Linked DNA regions of Homo sapiens: region 1 is linked to region 2. The links are contacts of gene promoters, found by promoter capture Hi-C in blood cells and fetal thymus (Javierre and others, 2016). All regions are on one chromosome and are shown on one strand. Each heading gives the region's core, a stretch centred on a gene start or on the middle of the fragment in contact. The rest is flanking DNA. Distances are from core to core; before and after follow the strand shown.

What was found. The method cuts DNA at HindIII sites, captures the fragments that hold promoters and counts their contacts. A CHiCAGO score of 5 or more calls a contact.
Region 1: a fragment that was not itself captured here is called in contact with the fragment with the promoter of LARS2-AS1 in region 2 in 2 of 17 cell types (M1 macrophages and M0 macrophages); the score reaches 6.1 in M1 macrophages.

The regions. Positions count from the first base shown.
Region 1 is chr3:44,994,154-44,996,853 of GRCh38, reverse strand. The region is part of intron 3 of EXOSC7 (exosome component 7); the gene reads right to left. Among named protein-coding and RNA genes, the nearest start is that of EXOSC7, 19 kb to the right of the region's middle. The HindIII fragment of the contact is 3,022 bases long and covers 1-2,700 here.
Region 2 is chr3:45,508,189-45,510,888 of GRCh38, reverse strand. It overlaps LARS2-AS1 (LARS2 antisense RNA 1), which reads left to right and starts at 1,344. Exons shown (of 4, transcript NR_048543.1): 1 at 1,344-1,532. All of the region lies in intron 15 of LARS2 (leucyl-tRNA synthetase 2, mitochondrial), which reads right to left. RefSeq lists a silencer at 978-1,272 and an enhancer at 2,099-2,700. The HindIII fragment of the contact is 1,698 bases long and covers 842-2,539 here.

The DNA of each region.
Region 1 (2,700 bases), core at 96-2,595, 510 kb after region 2:
ATAGCATCTAACAGAAGCCATCTTTAGTCAAAGAGAAACAGGAGAGTGATGGTAATGTGAACCTCGGCCGATAATAATTAACTCTCTTATCTTCAGAGTATAATAAATACTCTTCTCTGGCAGGCCTAGGAAACTGAGAGGCCTAGGGAATGAAGCAGTCTGGGTTACAGAGGGGTTTTGTCATATACACCACCTCTAGTTTCACAGCTTTAGAACACACTACGATACTCTCAATATAAAAACCACAATGTAAGTACAATAACCTTTCTGGAATAACTTAAAAGACATGTATGATAGTATGTCAGAGCTTTGTCAGAAACTTTAGATATCACTGTACTGAAGAGAAGGAAAATGAAAGAAAGCAAGGGAAAGATTGTTGGCTTGTAAGTAGTAGGTTACCTCCTTCATTTGATATTTTTCAAGAGAAAAACTTTTTTTTTCCCTTTTTGGCTTCTTGATATTTATGCCCAATAACCTCAACAAAACTAACAGGATTCAACATTAGCCACCCTAAAAACACTGAAGTGTTTAACAGGACATTTCTGAGAGTTTTTGGCTTAATACAAACAAACCCTTAATATGTATATGAGGTAAGTAACATTCTAGTAATTATTTTACTGTAACAGTAAAGGACTAGAAAGGTAAGAAGCCAGTGGTTTCAGCATGGACTCTATAAAATCACATATTAAAGCCTTCTGACCCCTTGCCCATCTGGAAGGCACCCAGCCCTGCACCAGCTACCAGAGACCTAGAGACTAAGTGAGGTGGATGCAGACCCAAAGCCAGCAGTTCCAGTGAGGTAGGGGAGTTTCACCATAGGGAGCAAACAGTGAGGTAGAAGCGGGAGTAGGGGCACAGGAGTGTCAATTAGCATTCAGGTTTAAAGGCGACCTCAAACCTGGGATGAGCAGAGCTGGTCAGGCCAGAGAGGCAGGAAGATTCCAGGCAAAGCAAAACCTGTGTGAACGCCCATGGCAGTGCCCACCCTATTTGTGTAACACTAAAAGAAATCTCACTTAGTAATATAGGTGGAAGAATGAATCCCAAATTAATCAGACTATGTTGTTACATAAAATTTTGCCTCTCTAATTATGTACTCCTCCTTTACCACTGTGAGCCAGCAGAATCCCCTTTAAAGTCCCCAAGAGAGACTTCATTACTGCCATAGCAACCTCGCTGTTCCCTGCCTTTGCTGGACTCAGGCACTGAGCCAAGAAAAGCAGCTCATTTATGGTGAAATAATCAAGTCAACAGGGACCAGGTTTTTACTTTGCACAGCCAGCAAAACACAACCTGTTTCTAATTTAAACACTAAGCAATCAATATTAAGTCCCAGGTCTTAAGTGCTTAAAAATACATCTACAGAGATTTCTGTGTACACAAATCCAGCCAGAGATGCTTACACTCAAAATGTTTACCTTTCCCTGAATGTAGTGGGCACATCCTCCTGGGTGTGACTAATTTCTTTGGGATTAATGCACTAACTCTTCTACAGCCTTGGGAGATGATTTATAGAGCTTCCCAGGTCCAACTGTCTAAATTAATCTACCTATAAAACCATGCATGCCCCTGGCCAGGCGTGGTGGCTCACGCCTGCAATCCCAGCACTTTCGGAGGCCAAGGCGGGTGGATCACCTGAGGTCGGGGGTTCGAGACCAGCCTGACCAACATGTAGAAACCCCGTCTCTACTAATAATACAAAAATTATCTGGGCGTGGTGGCACATGCCTGTAATCCCAGCTACTTAGGAGGCTGAGGCACAAGAATCACTTGAACCTGAGGCAGAGGTTGCAGTGAGCTGAGATCGCACCACTGCACTCCAGCCTGGTCAACAAGAGTGAAACTCCGTCTCAAAATAACAACAACAACAACAAACCCATGCCCCACTGGTTTTTTTTTGACACTGGGTTAAAGTGGAAATTTTTACCTATTTTTAAATGGCTTAAAACACACACACACACACACACACACACACACACACACACACACACACACACCCATTCTTCCACCATAGCCAGCAGTCAGACAGAGAGGAAGGTTTAGAGACTCATGAGCCCAAGGAACTCTCCTGTAACTGGATGGTGCCATAGCTGTGCAGTGACTCTGGGGAGGAGGCTAGGAAAACGGAAAGCAATTGTTCAGGGTGGGGGATGGGGTACAATGCTTTAAGCAACATAAGAAAGCCACAGACCCCATATTCTGCTGATGTGTGAAGACAAAGGCTGGAATAGAGAAATGAGGATTCCACTTCACTACTGGGCACTCACAGCCCAAGGACTCTTTCTGACAAATTTAGACAGAAATGTAGACCTGGAAAAGGCCTTAGAGACCATCTCCAGAGGATAAAAACCCAAATGGCTATAGGGGTCAGCAAGGTTACTACATGTATCTGAACAAAGGGCCACATATAACTAATAGAGAATGATGGAAGCTGTGGCAAACTTTCTAGCCCTGATTTAAGGTCCACCTTAAAAAAAAAAAAAATCCCTACATGAAACAAAAATCTCCCAGGTGGGATCTGACCTGTGGGATGACACTGTGAAACCCCAGATGGTCTAACTCTCTCATTTTACAAGAAGGGAGACCTTATCTTTTTTTTTTTTTTTTTAATGTTTAGCATGAGCTAGACACCACTCTTAGTACTTTAGGTGTATTAACTCATTTAATGTTCACAACAACCCTAGGAGGTATGGATTCCAT
Region 2 (2,700 bases), core at 95-2,594:
GGGCAAAGCAATCTCTGCCCTTGGGGAGCCAGCCTGTTTACGATCACTGAACCAAACCAATGCCTGACAACTCTCAGAGCTGTGAGGGAGGAAAAGAAAGAGTGCAGTCATATTTGAAGAGCTCCTCCTCCCAATCAAGTCCAAATTCCTCCGCATAGCCATCCAGGACTTCTCCCTGTCCCCTGCCACTCCCTCTGCTCTTTCAAATGTTGCCTGCATGTGCTTCCACGTCTTTACTCACGCCATTTCCCAAACTGTTATCAAAACTCTAGTCCTCCTTCCTGGCTCAACTCAAATGCCATCTCCACTGAGAAGGTATCTCCTGGTCAGAATTAGAATTAGTTGTTTTTTCCTTCCTGATGCATCCTGTGTAGTGCCTGTAATTGTATCTAGCAGCTATTACATTTTATTGTGTATTTAGGTAAGCTGCTTGCCTGTCTTTCTCCTGTGAGGAGTAGGAGGATGATTTTTTTTTGAGACAGGGTCTTGTTCTGTCACCCAGGCTGGGGTGCAGTGGCACAATCACAGCTCACTGCAGCCTCAGTCTCCTGGGCTCAAGTGATATTCCCACCTTACCCCTGCAAGCAGCTGGGACCACAGGCGCGCACTACCACACCCAGCTAATTTTTTGTATTTTTGGTAGAGATGAAGTCTCACTATGTTGCCCAGGCTGGTCTTGAACTCCTGAGCTCAAGCAATCCTCCTGCCTCGGCCTCCCAAAATGCTGGGATTACAGGCATGAGCCACTGCTCCTGGCCTTGAAAATCCTTAAAGGCCACTCTCAGTCTCCAGTTCCTAACAGATGCTCAGTAATGTTAATTGCCTTGAACTCAATCAAGCTTGTTTCAGTGGATGAATAAACCTACCAGCAGCAGGGGTGGGGGATAATGTGAGTAGGACAAAGTGGAGGCAAGAGAGGAGGGAAGAAAGAAATGAGTGAAGTGGGGCACTGGATGCTATACTTTCCAGCTAGTGCCACCATCTTTTTGCAGGGAGGGGTGCATTGAAAGATCCCAAGCAGCTGAAGCAAGAGAATGAGAGCAGGGGAATGCCCCGATGAGTGCTCACATGGAATTTCCCAGTGGGGAAAGGGGCGCTTCCCAGCTCCTAGAATCCTGCTCATTCCCAAGTGTTTTCCCTCCACTTTTCCAGGGAGCCAGGGAATGGGCTATAGGGAGTTGGGAATCTGGTTTTCACTCTTGGCTGAAGCTGGCCATGTCTACTCTCATGCGTAGTTTAGCTCTGAATGAGTCACACTTGTTTATTCATTCAACATGTATTTACATGATAATTGGGTACACAGCACTAGGCAATTAATTGGAGAGCTTACAATAAGAACAGGCAGCCCAGGACATGCTCATAAATAACCATCAGCACTACAAGAAAGACGTACCAAATGTGATTTGGAGGCGCAAGGTGCACAGGAATGAAGGACAAAGGACATCAAGGGCCCTGCTGGACTTGGAACCCAGGCCTGCTGGAGCAGAGATCACATCACATTGCCAAGTTCATTATTCAGATTCACAATTGGGGTAATGTGTTTCCCTTTTGTTCACTCATTCATTCACTCAACAGATGGTACTTGGGAACAGACTTGCGTATGCAACTGAGTTATTCATTCATCATAGTGACTGTGCACAGCAGGGGCCTTTATAAGTGAGTGGAAAATCTGCAACTCTAAACCACTAACAAACCGTTCTGACTCAGGGACCATCAAACGCGGGAGTATTAGGCAGGGCCTCTGCCTTGAAGAAGGCCCTGGATTTCTGAGTCAGCTTTCTTCCTACTCCTTCGGTACATCCCTGGAGGTAGATCATGCTTGCTTGCACTGAAGCACAGCTATATGTAAGCACAGTGATGAAAACTGGGGGGAGATCTTCACAATTTCTTCATTAGTTTAGACTGCACTAACTCAGAAATTGCAACAACTGATAGCTGCTGGGCATTGAAGGCCACATTTGTCCCACTTGGAAGAAGGAAAGAAGGAAGGGAGGGAGGCAGGGAAAGAGGGGAGGAAAGGTAGGGAGGGAGGAGAGGGAGGAAGGGAGGGAAGGAAGGGAGTTGCTAATTATTAGGATAAACAAGGAAATTCAGAACATTGATTGATTGGCCATGTTAAGTGCTCTTAAAAAAATCACTATATACAAGGAATGTGCTAATTACAGTATGAGCAAAGAATATCAGGATGTATCAGAGCCCCACCTTCTTGCTGCAGATGACATTTACCTATTCATGAAGCCCCAGAGAGCCTGCTGCCCACTCCCCTGACCTGGTGCGAGAGTGGCCTGCCAGGCTGCAGATCTTTGAAGGCCATAGATCTCTGAAAATGGTCTCCAAATTGGACTTTTCATTAAATCAGACTAAGTTTACCTTCCTCTTCTTCCTTGTTCTGTGCCCAGGGCCATCATGTCACATAATTAGCCTAGTTTCTAAGTATTAGCCATGGCTCATTCTTGAAATATCACCATTCCCATTTCCTAGCAGCCAGTTAGTGGCGCAGAAGGAGGGTTTACTAATACAGCAGGACCCAAGTAAAGCTTCTCTTCCCTTCCTGTTCCTTTTCCCAGTAGCCCCGTTTCTGGCATGATCAGAGTAACAGAGAAGAAAGCTCTGTGGATAGGGGCTTGCTGTGCTCTCCACGGTCAGCAGGCGGCCTGCCCTTCTCATGGGAGCTCCCTGAGCAGCTGCTTGCTTCTGACA